Regions from separate parts of the Homo sapiens genome. Here all the other regions are linked to region 6. Evidence: promoter capture Hi-C in 16 types of primary human blood cells and fetal thymus (Javierre and others, 2016). All regions are on one chromosome and are shown on one strand. Each heading gives the region's core, a stretch centred on a gene start or on the middle of the fragment in contact. The rest is flanking DNA. Distances are from core to core; before and after follow the strand shown.

Region 1 (2,965 bases), core at 41-2,540, 160 kb before region 6:
GAGCTAGTATCTGATTATTATTAAAGAAACTTTTACTAGTCTAAAATGCCAATATGAAAATCCGCTCAAGGCAGTTTGCCATATGCAAATAGATCTTCAGACCATAGATTCTTCAGCTGCAAGTTTCTTTCCCCACCCCGCTTTAGGTTTTAGTTACTCCAAGAATTAGCTCTTCCCGCCCCTGGGGTCTGACCTAGGAAGCATTTGGAGGTCGGTTCGCAGTGCAGGGCTGGCATCTCTCTACATCGGTACAATCTCGCAGCTCCATCTGCCTCTTCGCCCCCACAACACTGCAGTCTGACAGCGAGGGAGAGGACATGCAAATATGCCCTAAAAACGGCTTGTTATTTTTGCGGCCTGGATGGTGCACGTCTGTGGGTGCCTGTGAGGACAGCACGTCACTGTCGGGTACAGGGCAGATGCCACCAATTTGGGGGTGGCTGTAAAATGTAAAAATACCCAACCCAAATAAAAGTGGCTTTTCCAAAAATAAAAAATAAAAAAAGGGAAGAGTTCCTCCAGTGCCTTTTGCAGAGGAGAGAGGTGTTAACTCAGCCCCCCAGGCGAATCCCAGCTTGACGACCTCTGCCCAAGACACCTGGCTCTTCATCAACCCCATGCGCAGCCTTAGTGCCCCCATGAAACTGCTCAGCTACTGGCTCTAAATGGCAATTTTACTGTGGAATGATCCAGAAACAGATGCTCTCAAGTTACAGACCTGGGAAGGTGAGGAGCAGAGGGCCAAAAGACAAGGACCCTCCATCGTGAAGACAGAACACTATATAAGCCGGGATGTGCCCCAACGACACATTGGCTTACAAGATCAATTCAGAAGAATGTAATCACCATCAACTCACAGCTTGTAATCCACAGTCTTTAGTAGGCACCTATGATGGACCTTATCCACGTGTCTTGAGCACAAATGGCTAACAGGGACCAGGCAGTAGAGGTAAATGAAGGCAGATGGTAGTAGCAAAAGCAAAACCAACAATGTAAGTAGGATCACGAATAACAGGGAGGTGCAGGGGCCTGTGGCCCACTGGAAAGAGGAAACAGTGAAGTGCCTCTGTCCACCCCACTTAGCCATTACCATGCCAGAACAGGGTAGTGTATGATGAGATCTTACAATTTTTTAATCAAAATTTTCAAATGAAATGGGGGTTCGCGTTTCTTTTAAAACACTGAGCCGGCCAAACAAAATACATCTGAGAGCCAGGTCCAGCCTGCAAATGGCCAGTTTGCCACCACGGCCAGTTTGCCACCACAGCCAAGCCCCCAGCAGTCCTCTGCAGTTTTTAGGTACCTATCAGGAGAAGGGGAGCTGAGAGATAGTTGCCTAATATCCCCAGCTCTCCCCTACGGGTACCCAGACACCCTTCTCCACGAAGAAAGTCCTCTCTCCAGCACTTCCAGCACTTCAGCCCTCCGAGCTCCCCCCAGGCTCATCTTTGCCTGTGAACTCTCCCTCCAAGCAGAGCTACCATTCCCAGATGCTCAGCTGCTTCCTGCGCCCTCCCGATCCCAGCCTCTTCCCCACCTCCCACCACAGGCTCCTCCTTTCCAGGGGGCAGCTACTCTGGCAGGCCTCTGAAGAAACGGCGCTGCTGGGAACCTTGCTGGGACAGGCCTTCAGAGAAACGGCCAGCCCTGGGCAAGTCGCCGGGGGCATGCCCTGCACAGATCCTCAGCCATGCCGGGGACTGCTGCTGCTCACCAGTGCCCCGAGAAAAAGGGCTCATGAGAGCTGCAGGTGCAAGGGACCTGAGGAGGAATTCCTTGCAAATGCCACATGTGGGTGCTCCACGTGTGGGTCCCGGGCAAACGCCATCTAAGGCGGACACTGCTGGCTGACCGAGGCCATGCCTAGCTCTGGCAGCTGCTTGGGAAGGGAGGCCACGCTACTCTTCCTCCAAGTTCCCTGGTTCAGCTGCAGAAAGGGCCAAGAGGGGTGGAGGTCACGATGTGACTAATGATAACAATTTTAAAAGATAACCTAATATTGGCATTCTCTTGTCTACTTTTCAAAACATGTACACATTCCCATTCCCATTATCTCCCCAATCCTCCCACCACCCCAGAGAGATGGCCAAGATATTACTATTCATTACTGTCATTATTATCACTCTTCCACCGCCCCCCAGAGAACCAGAGACAGGTTAAACATCCTCCCCTGGCCCAGTGCTTCTCAAGTGTTAATACGTCCACGAATCCCTGGGGGATCTTGTTAAGATGCAGATTCTGATACAGAAGGCCTGGGGCGAGGCCTGGGATTCCACATTTCTGATAACCCCAGGGTGGTACGGATGATACTGGTCCTCAGACCACACTTTGAACAGCAAGGTTAAGGTCCCATGGTGGGTTTAAGGCCAGACCTGGAATCTGCCAGGGGTAAAAGGCTCGCTCACCTCACTTTTCACGGGCTGGGGCCTCTTGCCCAGTTTCACCTCCAGGAAGTGCAAGGGTGCAATCATGGCCCCGAGGTTGCGGATGTCAGCGTATTTCAGCTCCTCCACAGTCAGGGCCGAGCTGGGGAGCCCGGTCAGGGGGCCAAGCCCTGGCAGGGAGCCTGTGGTCACCGAAGGGTCCGGGATCTGCCCAGGCATCATAGCAGGAGGAGTGGCAGGCCAGCCTGGAGTGGGCAGGAAAAGAGCAGGACAGTCAGCCAGGTTGGGGGCTCCAGGAGGGCTCAAGTCCCTCGTCTTGCCAGGACTGTGGCTTCTTTCACCAATGTTCCCCTGAATCCCTTTCCCACCCAGCTGCTCTTCCTGCCGTAAAGTCCTTCCTGTTATAGAGGAAAAGTTGCTCAATTAACTCACACCAAGGTCACCCTTGGCACTGCCAGAAGTGTCTGCCTTTTTTATTTTGAAGGCAATGCTTGACCCAATCATAGGCAACATGTATTCAGCCTTTGGTATGTGCCAGGCCCCATGGTAATCCTGCAGTCCCATTAGGCTGGATCAGAGGT
Region 2 (2,893 bases), core at 305-2,804, 140 kb before region 6:
CTGTAATCCCAGCTTCTGGGAAGGCTGAGGTGGGTGAATCACTTGAACCCAGGAGGCGGAGGTTGCAGTGAACCAAGATTTTATCACTGCACTGCAGACTGGATGACAGAGTGAGACCCTGTCTCAAAAAACAAAAACAAAAACAAGCCAGGTGTGGTGGCACACACCTGTAGTTGCAGCGACTTGGGAAGCTGAGACAGGAGGTTCATCTGAACCCAGGAGTTTGAGGCTGCAGGGAGCTATGATTGCACCACTGCACTCCAGCCTGGTCTACAGAGCAAGACCCTATGCTTTAAATAAATAAGTAAATAAATATATAAATAAATAAACAGAAGCTAGTCTAGAACTCAGTCTTAGGAGATAAAGGAGTTAGGAGACAAAAGGTGTCCTAGAAGATCAAAGAAAGAAAGGCACAATCACAAAATCGCAAGTCTCCTCAAATCCCTTCTCCTTTAACACAGGCTTCCCAACTATCATGAAGGTCAAACCAGGTTGTCAGAGATAAGATCTGAGATGAGTTTGTGGTATTTGCTCAGATCTGAAAGAGTACATTATAGCTATAAAAATGTACAGTCTAGAGAGGCCTCAAGTTATTTTTAAGAGAGGGTTTAATCTGAAAATACATGCATTAGATATTATACTACAAAGATGTTTTCACTTTGCACTCACACAATGCTGCTTCTAGGAAAACCGAAGACCCTTCTCCACTTTTTTCTTTCTTCTTCATCCCCGTCTCCCACTCCCAGAAGATGTTGCTATATAGGTTGGTTAGATTCTTCCATAAAATGTTTGGGGCTGGGTGTGGTGGCTCACACCTGTAATCCCAGCACTTTTGGAGGCTGGGGTGGATGGATCACCTGAGGTCGGGAATTTGAGGCCAGCCTGATCAACATGGTGAAACCCCATCTCTACTAAAAATACCAAAAATATTAGCCAGACATGGTGGCAGGTGCCTGTAATCTCAGCTACTCGGGAGGCTGAGGCAGGAGAATAGCTTGAACCCAGGAGGCGAAGGTTGCAGTGGGATGAGATCACGCCATTGCACTCCAGCCTGGGCCACAAGAGCGAAACTCCATCTCAAAAAAAATAAAAAAGAGTTTGGGCCTCAGTTTCCTCAACAGTTAAATGTGGACAATAATGGTGCCTACATTAGAGGGTTTATGTGAAGATTAAATACGATCTTATGAAGCACCATATCAATACCTGCCACAAGCCCAATACATTTGGCTGTGTTCGTCACCACCACCACCATCACCATCATAACCATCAACATTATGGTTCAGTCAGCTCAAGTCCCCTACTTTGTCACCTTCTCAGATGGGTCAAACCCACAGGGATTTCTCCCTCTTCTGACCTTAACTAGCATTTCCCTTCTAACATCTAATCATATGCCATTTAAAATTTTTCTCCTTATTTCACATATGCATTATCATTCCAACATGCTTGAAGTTATCAGTAGGGACAGTATCTTAAAATTTTTAAACTCCTATAGCACCTACCATGTGCTGAGCTTATGTTTGGCACTCAATGTGCCAAATATATGATTGCATTTATTTAAATAAAAATGGAAGGAAATCATTTCTTTTGTGTCCCTGATAATGTTGAAAGCAGTCTGGGCTCTTGGCACTTAAAGAATACTTGTTGAACAGATGCTTGTTGAGCAGAGATGTAATTATCAGTCACACCTTATGCAGCACAAACTTGTAGAATATTAAAGCAAGGAAGAGGCCATATTTTACAGATGAGGAAATTGAGGTCCCCACTGATGACACAGATCTCATTGAACAAAAGTTATGGTGGAAATAATTCTCAGGACTCTTTTTCTGCTATGCATTTTAAAACAACCACCAATAAAAAGTTATTTCAGCAAATGTTTATTGAAGGGGAAAAAAAGTCCCTTTAGGTTTTCTGCGGGAGGTAGCGTTTCCTCTTACACTCAACAATTTGGTGGTGTGGTAGAGAGAGGTGTAGGGAGGAGCCAAGGAGGCCCCTATGACTGGGCTGTTGTGTGGGCCTAGGCGGGGGAGGGGTGGGATTTTCACTTCTTGGAAGGCTCTTCCAGCTCCAGGCAATCCGGGCCAGGTTTTGACACCTGCATGTCTCAGCACCCTGCCCTAAGTCAGCCAAAGTGTACCTTCTAGAGAGCCGCCCTCCCCGCTGAGTCCCTGGGCTCCTGGAAACTCACCCCCTGAGACCAGAATAGGTCCCCATAGACCAGAAAAGGCCCCCACACTCGGAACTGGAGGAATTGGCTCTCCTTAAAAAACGAGGATATGATTTTGCAATTAGAATGCACTCCTGTAAGAGGAGACACCTCTGCGCTGGCCTCAGGGGTGAGCTGGAGGTGGGAGGTGGGCGCTGAGGGCGGTCAGAAGGCCTCTGGAGGGGACCTTGGGACAAGGGCTTCTTTGGTAGCCCTGGCCAGGTTCACAGGCTTCCTTTCAGGTTTTGTGCCCACGATTCCCCCACCCATCTCCTCCCGCCAGCGTTTCTCTATCTCTTAAATACACCTTCCTAATCCTCTCCTTCCTCCTTTTTAAAGCCAGCCTTTCCTTTCAAATACTTCCTCAAATGCCAGCTTGTTATGTTTGTGCCCTGCCGTGTACGAGAGTATATTTCAGACCACAGAGTTGGATTTTTATTCATTCCTTCATTCAGTCATTCATTCATTCATTCATTCAATAAATATTTGATTATTTCTATGTGCAGGGCTCACAGCATCATGAAATGATGAGAAAGACTGGCCCAGTCCTTAGGTGGATGAATAATTAGCTAATTAACTAAATAATTATAAGCATAAAAGGGAGTTTTGAGAGGTGTTAAGAGACAGGTAGAAAAACAATTGGATCATTGGAAACTTGAAAAGAAAAATTAAAAAATAATAGTTAAAAAT
Region 3 (2,912 bases), core at 24-2,523, 230 kb after region 6:
GGTTTGGCCATAAGCTCCTTGGGCCAATGTGTTGAGGAACTTGCCCTCAACAGTATTGATGCTGAAGCAAAATGTGTGGCTGTCAGGGTGAATATGGAAACCTTCCAAGTTCAAGTGATAGACAATGGATTTGGGATGGGGAGTGATGATGTAGAGAAAGTGGGAAATCGTTATTTCACCAGTAAATGCCACTCGGTACAGGACTTGGAGAATCCAAGGTTTTATGGTTTCCGAGGAGAGGCCTTGGCAAATATTGCTGACATGGCCAGTGCTGTGGAAATTTCGTCCAAGAAAAACAGGACAATGAAAACTTTTGTGAAACTGTTTCAGAGTGGAAAAGCCCTGAAAGCTTGTGAAGCTGATGTGACTAGAGCAAGCGCTGGGACTACTGTAACAGTGTATAACCTATTTTACCAGCTTCCTGTAAGGAGGAAATGCATGGACCCTAGACTGGAGTTTGAGAAGGTTAGGCAGAGAATAGAAGCTCTCTCACTCATGCACCCTTCCATTTCTTTCTCTTTGAGAAATGATGTTTCTGGTTCCATGGTTCTTCAGCTCCCTAAAACCAAAGACGTATGTTCCCGATTTTGTCAAATTTATGGATTGGGAAAGTCCCAAAAGCTAAGAGAAATAAGTTTTAAATATAAAGAGTTTGAGCTTAGTGGCTATATCAGCTCTGAAGCACATTACAACAAGAATATGCAGTTTTTGTTTGTGAACAAAAGACTAGTTTTAAGGACAAAGCTACATAAACTCATTGACTTTTTATTAAGGAAAGAAAGTATTATATGCAAGCCAAAGAATGGTCCCACCAGTAGGCAAATGAATTCAAGTCTTCGGCACCGGTCTACCCCAGAACTCTATGGCATATATGTAATTAATGTGCAGTGCCAATTCTGTGAGTATGATGTGTGCATGGAGCCAGCCAAAACTCTGATTGAATTTCAGAACTGGGACACTCTCTTGTTTTGCATTCAGGAAGGAGTGAAAATGTTTTTAAAGCAAGAAAAATTATTTGTGGAATTATCAGGTGAGGATATTAAGGAATTTAGTGAAGATAATGGTTTTAGTTTATTTGATGCTACTCTTCAGAAGCGTGTGACTTCCGATGAGAGGAGCAATTTCCAGGAAGCATGTAATAATATTTTAGATTCCTATGAGATGTTTAATTTGCAGTCAAAAGCTGTGAAAAGAAAAACTACTGCAGAAAACGTAAACACACAGAGTTCTAGGGATTCAGAAGCTACCAGAAAAAATACAAATGATGCATTTTTGTACATTTATGAATCAGGTGGTCCAGGCCATAGCAAAATGACAGAGCCATCTTTACAAAACAAAGACAGCTCTTGCTCAGAATCAAAGATGTTAGAACAAGAGACAATTGTAGCATCAGAAGCTGGAGAAAATGAGAAACATAAAAAATCTTTCCTGGAACATAGCTCTTTAGAAAATCCGTGTGGAACCAGTTTAGAAATGTTTTTAAGCCCTTTTCAGACACCATGTCACTTTGAGGAGAGTGGGCAGGATCTAGAAATATGGAAAGAAAGTACTACTGTTAATGGCATGGCTGCCAACATCTTGAAAAATAATAGAATTCAGAATCAACCAAAGAGATTTAAAGATGCTACTGAAGTGGGATGCCAGCCTCTGCCTTTTGCAACAACATTATGGGGAGTACATAGTGCTCAGACAGAGAAAGAGAAAAAAAAAGAATCTAGCAATTGTGGAAGAAGAAATGTTTTTAGTTATGGGCGAGTTAAATTATGTTCCACTGGCTTTATAACTCATGTAGTACAAAATGAAAAAACTAAATCAACTGAAACAGAACATTCATTTAAAAATTATGTTAGACCTGGTCCCACACGTGCCCAAGAAACATTTGGAAATAGAACACGTCATTCAGTTGAAACTCCAGACATCAAAGATTTAGCCAGCACTTTAAGTAAAGAATCTGGTCAATTGCCCAACAAAAAAAATTGCAGAACGAATATAAGTTATGGGCTAGAGAATGAACCTACAGCAACTTATACAATGTTTTCTGCTTTTCAGGAAGGTAGCAAAAAATCACAAACAGATTGCATATTATCTGATACATCCCCCTCTTTCCCCTGGTATAGACACGTTTCCAATGATAGTAGGAAAACAGATAAATTAATTGGTTTCTCCAAACCAATCGTCCGTAAGAAGCTAAGCTTGAGTTCACAGCTAGGATCTTTAGAGAAGTTTAAGAGGCAATATGGGAAGGTTGAAAATCCTCTGGATACAGAAGTAGAGGAAAGTAATGGAGTCACTACCAATCTCAGTCTTCAAGTTGAACCTGACATTCTGCTGAAGGACAAGAACCGCTTAGAGAACTCTGATGTTTGTAAAATCACTACTATGGAGCATAGTGATTCAGATAGTAGTTGTCAACCAGCAAGCCACATCCTTAACTCAGAGAAGTTTCCATTCTCCAAGGATGAAGATTGTTTAGAACAACAGATGCCTAGTTTGAGAGAAAGTCCTATGACCCTGAAGGAGTTATCTCTCTTTAATAGAAAACCTTTGGACCTTGAGAAGTCATCTGAATCACTAGCCTCTAAATTATCCAGACTGAAGGGTTCCGAAAGAGAAACTCAAACAATGGGGATGATGAGTCGTTTTAATGAACTTCCAAATTCAGATTCCAGTAGGAAAGACAGCAAGTTGTGCAGTGTGTTAACACAAGATTTTTGTATGTTATTTAACAACAAGCATGAAAAAACAGAGAATGGTGTCATCCCAACATCAGATTCTGCCACACAGGATAATTCCTTTAATAAAAATAGTAAAACACATTCTAACAGCAATACAACAGAGAACTGTGTGATATCAGAAACTCCTTTGGTATTGCCCTATAATAATTCTAAAGTTACCGGTAAAGATTCAGATGT
Region 4 (3,120 bases), core at 524-3,023, 220 kb before region 6:
ATAGATAGTATCTTAGATGATATTATTAAATTATTGTTAAATTCCTTAGGTGTGATAATGACATTGTGGTTATGTCCTTGTCTTTAGGAGATGTACACTGAAGTACTTAAGACTGATAGGTCATGTTCTCTACAAGTTATTTTCTAATGGCTTACAAAGAAATATGTAAGAGTGTGTGTGTGTGTGTGTGTGTGTGTGTGTGTGTGTGTTTGTGTTTAAAACTGGTGAACCTATTACAGAATGGAGGCTCACTGTTCTAGTATAGCAACTTTTTGATTGATTTGCTTTTTTCCCCAAAAATTTTTAAAAATGGGTGATAAAATGCTACATGATCATAGTAGGAAAAGTTTATGTTATTTTGTCACCAAGATGAAACAAAGGTGACTCCAGTAAAAATCTATATAGAAAGTTGTAATTTGAAAAAGAAGCAAACCAAAATGTAATACAATTTTATGCAATTGGTAGATTGTAACAATAAAAAAAATCCATTTGACATTTGATCTTGCAACAGTTCCCTTTAGGCGGCTCAGTTTGAATAGCATAGGATTACATTTGCTTGTCTGCAGGTCAAACCTCACTATTTAGATTGTCACTAAAGAATACACAATAAAATTATTGTAATTACTGTCTTCTGTTTTCAATTCTTAGGAACAATCTTTGAATAAAGCATGGAAGACTAAGTTATAGTAAAGTAATATAATAAAGTCATGGTAGAATAAAAAATGACAATGTTATTTATAGTGGTGTTTCTTCCGGTTTTAATTTTATTATTATATTTTCTTGTTTGTATGTTTGAAATATTTCACAGTAAAAAAAATTAAAAGTAATTGTTTATTAGCTGACCATAATCAGAAATAGAAATAGGAGATACAGAGAAGGTATTTATAAGTTCCCCAGAGAACAGACTCTGAGACTCTAAGACTTGGGTATAGGGAGGTTGTTGGAGAGTGTTCTCAGAAACATCACCTGTGAGAGTTGAGGGAGCCAAGACCAGGCAGGGGAGGAGTGAGTAGATACAAGGCCCCAGTCAATGCTGCAAGAAGTTTGGGAGGAGGCAGATGGCTCTTCAAAGTTGCTCCATTGAGGCCAATAGGCTGGCTACACCATTATAACACATAACCCATACTGACCAGTCACTGGATATGGGCTGCCCTCTGGGAGGTGGCATAATCTCTCACATAATCTCCAGGTAACTCCCTTCAGCCAAAAGCAATTCTTGGAGAGGGACTCAGCTGAGACCTCTTAGCTGCCAGCACTCCCCAAAGTTGGGGAATCAAGGCCTTGGTCCTGAAAGGGATCTGGGCAGCACGCCACACCACAGTGTCCATTACAAGGCAGAAGGAAGTCTGCCTTGTGTATTTTCCTGAACTTACACTTTGTAAGTTAGACATACTGTAAAAGGTGACGGGCCAAGAAATTGAGATGTAAGTATATTATTTAAAGTTATAAAGATTCCGATAGACTTAATATAAAAATAAAAATTGGGAGGGAGAACATGCGGTGAAATATAACTGAGTTAAATTCCTCAATATTCAAAGTATAAAGGAGTTTTCAAACAATCTTTAAAGTAGATAAACTAAGAGAGAGAAGTATAAACATATTTTAGAATTCTGCCTATAACCACAGGAGGACAAAACCTAGATCTGATTTTAAATGTTTACGTCTAAAGAGTCAGTCTAGGGGTAGGCCGGGAGATGTGGAAAACTTATGTTTTCTTTATCCTTTTGTAACTGTTTGAAATTTTATTACCACACACATGAACCATTTTTATAGTAGTTAAGAACAATAGCAACAACAACAAAAAAATCTCCCCCTTAGGAGCTGCTTGGAAAAACTTTCTCCTTTTATCTCCTTCCAACAGATAAACTGATTCAATCTGGACTCTCACATCTTATTCCTGATCCGAAAGTGTTGCCCGGAAAGCATAAGATGACCAGGCTTAGATAATACTCTACAGTTTTGTTTTTAATTTTAATTTTTTTTTTTTTGAGACGAAGTCTTGCTCTGTCACCCAGGCTGGAGTGCAGTGGCATGATCACAGCTCACTACGGCCTCTGTCTCCCAGGTTCAAGCGATTCTTCTGCCTCAGCCTCCTGAGTAGCTGGGATTACAGATGCGCACCACCATGCCTGGCCAATTTTTGTATTTTTAGTAGAGATAGGGTTTCACCATGTCAGCCAGGCTGGTCTCAAACTCCTGACCTCAAGTGATCTGCCCACCTCGGGCTCCCAAAGTGCTGGGATTACAGGTGTGAGCCACCATGCCCAGCCTTATTTTTTTTTAATTAAAATTTAAAAACCATTTAAACCTATTTACTTATTTACCATTGTATGCCCTGCAGTTTTGAGTGAACATCCTAAGGCTACCCTTTTGTGAGTTCTCCTTTTGGTTTAGTCCTGGCTTGGTTAGCAGAACCTAAAAGAATAGCCACTTCCAAAAACACGCTGGTAGGAGGTGAGGTTCCAAAGCCCAGTCCTGCCAGCTCCTATGGTGGGAAGAGCGACTGGAGCCTGGGGCCCGGGACTCCTGGCAACCCCAGCTCTACAAATGGCTGTGGGACTCTGAGAAAGCCTCTCCCAGGCTCAGGCGTCATCTGTGGAGTGGGAATAATAAAAGTAGCCACACGCTTTGTTGGGAGAGTTCAATGAGATGATGACTAGAAAGCGCTTAGGCCTGAGCACGTGGTCACCGCTCCTTAAATGTCTGCTGTGTTGGTGTCACTGCCGCTACCTTTTAGTTGTCACCGCTGCTCCTGGATTCCTCTGAAAAAGCTCAGGGAGACGCCATCTTCAAGCCTCATTAGGCATCTCCTTTGTGAAGAGCTCAGCCCCAAGGGCAAAATAAGGTCCCAGTGCTTCCAACAGTCCCTACTCTCAAGCCAGAGACAAAGAGAACAACGTCAGAGTCAATTCTCTAACTACCTTAATGACACTGAGAGCTGAGCCCTGAGCCCCGGGAAAGTTCCTGTGATGTGGTTGGAAAACTCCGTATCCCCTACTCAGCATGATGTCTCCGCCATTTGCTGGCCTGGATGTCCTGGACCCAGACAAAGCTCGACCATTTTCTGCTGTGTATGGTGTTCAGGACAGATGGTCCAGGCAGAAAGTTCAGCTCACTCTA
Region 5 (3,019 bases), core at 227-2,726, 210 kb after region 6:
TTACTTCTGCAATGTCTCTCATATATGACTCTTCCTTTACATTTCTGCTGCCCCAGGTGAGTTTTTCCTCACTTCTCCTTGGGATGGCATAGCCCTCCTAACTTCTGCTCTTGCCTTCAATATCTGCTCTTCAAACCCATCCTTCATGCTGCAGGCAAAATAATCAGTCTAAATATTTCTCCACCCCCCCCCAGCTTTATTAAAATATAATTGACAAGCAAAAATTATATCTATATTTGCAGTGTACAAAGTGATGTTTTGATAATGTATGCATTGTGCAGTGATTAAATCAAGCTAATTACTAAATGCTTCTGATCCTACCATTTCCCTCCCCAGTAGCTTCTTCTTTACCTATAGAATAAAGTTGAAATGCATAATTTAGCATGGCATCTCTACCTCCCAGATTAGGTCCAGCCTACCTTTTCAGTTTTGCCTCCCCTTAATAAGCCACAGAGTTCAACCCAGTGAGTCTCATCCCTGACTGTGTGTTAAGACTACTTGGAAAGCAATATCTAGGGGTGAGGCCTGAGGATTAACATTTTTAAAGCTTCCCCAAAGATCCTGATGCACAAGCAGGGTAGCAAACCCCTGGTCTAGCCACAACTGGCTACTTGTACTTCTTCATCTCCATGGTACTACATTACTCTAAGCTCCACATACTGGGAGCTGGTAGAGCATAGCATTCATGGGGATTGACTCTGGAACCAAATCCCAGCTCCATCACTTACTGGTTGTGTGACCTTGGATTAAATGCTGTTTCCTCCAAGAACTCTTTCCCTGTCTTCCCAATCAGAATTAATTTGTTTGCTCCTTTGTAATATTTTCTGTCCTTGTTATAGCACAGGGCTGGTTCCTGATGAGCTCTCAATGGATTTTCATGGAATTAAATTATCATGCCATATATTTTATTGTCATTATTTGCATGCATTTGTGCCCCTACACTAAATTAAAAACTCTTTGAGGGCAAAGATTTTATATCATTCATCTTTGTATATCCTAGAGTGCCCCATTCGTATTAGACACTCAGTAAGTTTTGAATTCTATAAACTATTTTTTAAATGAATTTTAGAGAAAGAAATACCATTAGCAAGATACTCTATTTAGAGTTATTTTCAAATATTGCCAAGTACAACATTCAATCCAGCTTGTTCACCACCAACCCCCCACCTCTCAGCACTAAGGTTGTATGATTCTCTAGGATATGGATCCTCACTCTAGCGGGGAACTAGCAGAATGATGAATTTCCGTGCCTACTGTCACAAACCCATATCTCATTGTCAAGTCTGCCAACCTGGCATATTCACATAAGGAGTCTTTACGTTATGAAGAGGTGTAATGTATACAGTCAATCCACAGAGGATCAATAAACACCACAGTTTTCCTTCACACACATGAATCATAAGGGTAGCTGGATTCAAATGTTTACACATCAACTCTAATTTTAACCATCTTCATCCACATCCCCCTTGACAATTCCCTGTTCCCAAAATAAATTCGTGTAGTTTGGCCATTTGGCTTAGATTGACTGACTCAACTGTAATTCTGGAGCCATGAGTTATTTTGCTTGTGCTCTTGCTTTATTTGTGTAGTTAGCTGGTTATTTGTTCAAGCATTATTTGACATTTTCTTAGTAAAGGAGACCGGTGAGTAGCTTCCAGAAGCCCAGAAGCAGACATAACCTCCATTGGGACCTCCTGTGCACTTATGCCCCGTAATCCCCTATTCCAGATTGTTATGACCCAAACTTTAAGGAGAACTGAATGAAAAAGGACAGAAAGGTTAAATGTATCCTACTCAACATATTTATGATGTTTATTTTTTTATTTATTAATTTATTTATTTGAGTCAGAGTCTCCCTCTGTTGCCCAGGCTGGAGTGCAGTGGGGCAATCTCGGCTCACTGCAGCCTCCACCTCCCAGGTTCAAGCGATTCTCCTGCCTCAGCCTCCCGAGTAGCTGGGATTACAGGCGCCCGCCACCATGCCCGGCCAATTTTTGTATTTTTGGTAGAAACGGGGTTTCACCATGTTGGCCAGGCTGCTCTCGAACTCCTGACCTCAAGTGATTCGCCCGTGTCGGCCTCCCAAAGTGCTGAGATTACAAGCTATTTATGATGTTTAATGTGTGCTGTTTGTCTCTCACCTCCAGAATTAAGCTCCTCAGGACAGGGATCCTGTTTTGTTCACTGATGTTTGCCTGGTCACCTAGAACAGGTGCCTGGCACACAGTAGCTGTCAGTCAGTATTTAATTGAATGATTGAATGTATCCCCATGTACTTCTTCGTCTATGCCTTTCTCCTCATGAGAAAATGAGAAGAGGGTTGCGCTTGTTGACTGAGATGCGATGAGGGCTAGGTTTGTGGAGGCCCAGCCGAGTTCCTGGACAGATCCCCAACCCAAAGCTTTTGGGTTGCCGGACAACCGCGTCCTGAAATCCCACCTTCTGGGCGGGCCCGGGCCGAGGCGCCGTCTCTGATTGGTCAGCTGGAGGTGATGGGCATGAGCGACAGCGAAGGAGCAGCTACACACTAAACTTCCGGGCGCGGAGGTTTGCGCGCCTTGGTGAGCCGTTGGCGTGGTGGTCCCGGAGTGATCCTGGCAGCCGGTGGGGAAGACAAGGAGGGTGAGCCGCCAGGGGCCCCCAGGGTGTGCTTCTCAGGTCGATTAGCCCTAAAATGTTAGTAGCAGGGGATTCTGGGAGTTAGTAGCAGGGAATTCTGGTAGTGAGGGAGCGGGACCGGGCATGGATGTAAGGAGGTCATCGGTCCTCAGGTTATTTCCCCAGAAGAGGCTTCAGCGGGCAGCTGCGATCCGAAGCTCCCTCTCCCGGCGTCTGGTTCTTCCTTCACACACACCTTATCACATCCACTCACGTTTCCATTTCCAGGACCTTGAAGTCGGGGAGAGGTCGCAATGGTTAAGGATGGACAGGGGTGGGTGTGGCCCTTTCTGACTCAGGCTTGCGGGTCCTGGAATAATAGCCCTTCACTCTTCTGCTTTCCTGGTTTCTGACAGGTTTG
Region 6 (2,888 bases), core at 184-2,683:
CAGGGCTCCCAGTTACGGATGTGCAGCCAGCCCCATCAGTGGCTTCATCCTCTGTACTGGGCTCCTGCATCTCCGGGGCTGCTTCCCACCCAGCCCCCACATTCCCAGGAAGAGTACGCTAGAGTTCCTCACCTGTTCCACCTTGCCCCTCCTGCCAATGCTCTGCGCTCGGCCTCCTGTCATGGTCTTCACAACGCCAGCCCTGGAGTAAGCCCCAGCGGAGGGGGCGGGGACTCCGAAAGGGTGAGGGGCTCTGGTCTGCGATGGGGCCACGGAGGAGACGAGGGCGGGCTGCACCAGCCACTGCAGGTCCGGACTGGTCGAGATGGCAGTGACCGTGGGAATGAAGTTGGCACTGGAGACGGCCAGGTCCGTGCAGAAGTCCTAGAACAAAACAGAAGGGGAAAGCCGACGTGAGCGAGCAGGTTCCGGACACAGGTGGGGCGAGTTCCCAGTGCCGCATGCAGCAGTGAAGAGAAACGATCCTGCCACGGACATTTCATCTTAAATGTCCCTCATCCTGGATGAAAGGTCTCCCCCTTTTCCTCCCAGGCATTCCGCAGCGCAGTGCCTGTCTCTTCCATCCTGCCGCTGCGTTCCCGTTATCCCTTCAGCATCACTTGCTTGAAAGGGGGTTTGTTATAAATATCCCTGACGTCTGCGCTGACGCAGGCGCCGCTCCGGAGTCTCCAGAATGAACTCGCTTTTTATCAATGAAACTGCCTTACACACCCGCCCGCTGCACCCTCCTCCCTCATCCCTCCTCCGTGCTCCAGGCTGCCGGGGGAGGGGGGATTGCCGCTTTCTGCCACCTCCCCGGAGAAGCCAGGCTCTAGTTAGCGAGTTTGTGCTTGGGACACGTCTGCTCCAGCTAATGTCAGAGATCCGTCCTGGAGTGCAGACCAGAGGTTGCTCAGAACGAACCTGCCTCCCGAAGGGGGAACCAATTCTTACTATGGCAAGCGTGCGTGCGCTCAGAGCAAGTCCCGAGCCCCCGAGCCGGCACCGCTCCGGCCACGGCAGCCTCCCTCCAGGCACAAGGGAGCCCCCTACTCATCTACTGGAGCGTCCCGCCCGGTGTCTCCTCCTCCGCGACCCCAAGCCCCCGGCCCCGCGGCGACGGGAAGCCAGCCTTACCTGCGCGTTGACAGGCGAGCCCATGCTGGAGAAGGAGTCTGCGGGTGAGTGGTAGTAAGAGAGGCTATCCCCGGCCGGGGACGCGCTGCTGCAGCGGGAGGATGACGCCTCGTAGTCTGCGTTGAAGCCCGAGAACATCATCGTGGCGGTTAGGCAAAGCCGGGCGAGGGGCCGAGGGGCGGAGACAGGTGGGCGCTGTGGAGCAGAGCTGGGTAGGAGCACGGTCACTGCTCGTTCGCTGCGCCGCGGCCGCCGGCTCAGTCTTGGCTTCTCAGATGCTCGCTGCAGATGCGGTTGGAGTACGAGGCGCCGCAGCCACTGCTTTTATAACAAGCGTTTTATGAATGAGTGTAAACGTCACGGGCTCAACCACGGTGGCGCCAGAGGGGTGGCGCGCGGGCCTGGGCGCTTCTGCGGCCGCCCGGCTGCGTCCCCAGCGCTCGCAGCTCCCTGCCCCCGCCTTGGCGCGTGTCCTAATCTCGTGAGCATTTCGCAGTTCCTGTCTCAGAGGTCTCGTGGGCCCCCCAAGATGAGGGGTTTCGGGGATGGCTCCCCCCAGGGCTACAGGGAAAGGCCGTGGAAACCTGCTGACGCAGATGTCCTAATATGGACATCCTGTGTAAGGGGGGAGGGATTGACGGGAACTGCTCGCGGGCTGCAGCCAACACCGAGGGTGCAGTGCGGGGGGAGGCGGGGGCCGCGGCTGGGGGAGGGGAGGCGGGAACGGCGCAGAATGAGAGAGAACATTCGCACCTGGTTCAATGCGGACCCTTGTTCCCGAGGTCGGGGGGGATGGGGCAGAGAGCGCCTTTTTACCCTTGTACGGAAACTGAAGACAGTTCTGAGGCTCAGAGATAGGAGAAACGGCATCGAGTACAGGACCCCGAGGACTTAAGCCTCGGCTCCCGAAGGAATGCGCCCCTACCCCCATCCCCAATTCTAGCCCTAATTCAGTGCAAAGCGTGGAAGCAGACCTTCATCCCCTAACCTCCAGCCCTCGGGCTCGAGCAATACTAGCACTGTTCCTGCGTTTGGAAGCAGAAAGTGGAGGATCCAAAATAAGAGAATACGATAACCTACTTTACGATACTGGGTACTTTATTTATTTATTTTTTTAAAGAAGACAGCGCATTTATTTATTTATTTTTCTCGGCCATGTGTGGGAATATTAAGGAAACTGTCAAATCCCTGAGACACCAGCAGATAAACACTGTGCAAAACCTACGTGCGAAGACATTTGAAGGGGGTGTCTGCCCGGTTCTGAGCTGGGCCCCAGGGGTAGGGAGTGCGAGGTGTGGTTATGTGGGCAGGGTGGTCAGTTCGGGATGACAAGGCGGGGTGTGCTTCCTGCGGGGAACTCAAATCTGCGCTGAGGGCTGGTTCGGTCCCGCCAGGAAGCTGTGCTTACGGGAGCCCGCAGCGGGTGATTTTCCAGCGCGGACTTGGAGGGTGGAGGACGGGGGCTGGAAGGACAGTGTCCAGCTGCGCCTGGGCGGAATACCTCGACTGCTGGGACCCCAGGAGCGGCTCCACGTCCTGGAACACGGGGCTTTGGGGAGGCAAGGTGCTCCAGAGTGTGCCACGCCCCCCAATCTCCTGCCCTGCTGCGTAGGACAGCCGGGGTCACGCTGCCGGGGCTCAGCCCCAGCGCGCTGGCCACCTCCAGGGCGCGAAGACGCATGTCCCCGCACAGCCCCGGTCTTCCCTTCTCCACTCTTCGGGCCCGGGGGTCGGGGCCCGCGGTGGGCACC

Evidence for each region. The method cuts DNA at HindIII sites, captures the fragments that hold promoters and counts their contacts. A CHiCAGO score of 5 or more calls a contact.
Region 1: a contact is called between a fragment that was not itself captured here and the fragment with the promoter of FOS in region 6, in 1 of 17 cell types (monocytes). The highest score is 7.8, in monocytes.
Region 2: a contact is called between a fragment that was not itself captured here and the fragment with the promoter of FOS in region 6, in 1 of 17 cell types (monocytes). The highest score is 7.4, in monocytes.
Region 3: a fragment that was not itself captured here is called in contact with the fragment with the promoter of FOS in region 6 in 1 of 17 cell types (monocytes); the score reaches 5.1 in monocytes.
Region 4: a fragment that was not itself captured here is called in contact with the fragment with the promoter of FOS in region 6 in 4 of 17 cell types (activated CD4 T cells, monocytes, neutrophils and 1 more); the score reaches 8.0 in activated CD4 T cells.
Region 5: a contact is called between a fragment that was not itself captured here and the fragment with the promoter of FOS in region 6, in 4 of 17 cell types (monocytes, erythroblasts, activated CD4 T cells and 1 more). The highest score is 9.1, in monocytes.

The regions. Positions count from the first base shown.
Region 1 is chr14:75,437,562-75,440,526 of GRCh38, reverse strand. It overlaps JDP2 (Jun dimerization protein 2), which reads right to left. Exons shown (of 4, transcript NM_001135048.2): 2 at 2,406-2,629. The coding sequence starts at 2,606. Among named protein-coding and RNA genes, the nearest start is that of JDP2, 11 kb to the right of the region's middle. RefSeq lists enhancers at 22-231, 1,071-1,573, 2,581-2,965. The HindIII fragment of the contact is 3,402 bases long and covers 1-2,965 here.
Region 2 is chr14:75,418,722-75,421,614 of GRCh38, reverse strand. No RefSeq gene overlaps it. Among named protein-coding and RNA genes, the nearest start is that of JDP2-AS1, 7.5 kb to the left of the region's middle. RefSeq lists an enhancer at 2,359-2,408. The HindIII fragment of the contact is 4,896 bases long and covers 1-2,893 here.
Region 3 is chr14:75,046,699-75,049,610 of GRCh38, reverse strand. MLH3 (mutL homolog 3) reads left to right here. Exons shown (of 13, transcript NM_001040108.2): 2 at 1-2,912. Among named protein-coding and RNA genes, the nearest start is that of MLH3, 3.3 kb to the left of the region's middle. The HindIII fragment of the contact is 1,843 bases long and covers 352-2,194 here.
Region 4 is chr14:75,499,417-75,502,536 of GRCh38, reverse strand. No RefSeq gene overlaps it. Among named protein-coding and RNA genes, the nearest start is that of BATF, 21 kb to the left of the region's middle. The HindIII fragment of the contact is 4,882 bases long and covers 1-3,120 here.
Region 5 is chr14:75,063,557-75,066,575 of GRCh38, reverse strand. It overlaps ACYP1 (acylphosphatase 1), which reads left to right and starts at 2,552. Exons shown (of 3, transcript NM_001107.5): 1 at 2,552-2,622; 2 at 3,015-3,019. RefSeq lists an enhancer at 2,212-2,381. The HindIII fragment of the contact is 1,854 bases long and covers 550-2,403 here.
Region 6 is chr14:75,277,373-75,280,260 of GRCh38, reverse strand. It overlaps FOS (Fos proto-oncogene, AP-1 transcription factor subunit), which reads right to left and starts at 1,433. Exons shown (of 4, transcript NM_005252.4): 1 at 1,138-1,433; 2 at 133-384. The coding sequence starts at 1,278. RefSeq lists enhancers at 1-515, 1,102-1,161, 516-1,443 and silencers at 1,532-1,591, 1,942-2,031, 2,760-2,888. The HindIII fragment of the contact is 6,704 bases long and covers 1-2,888 here.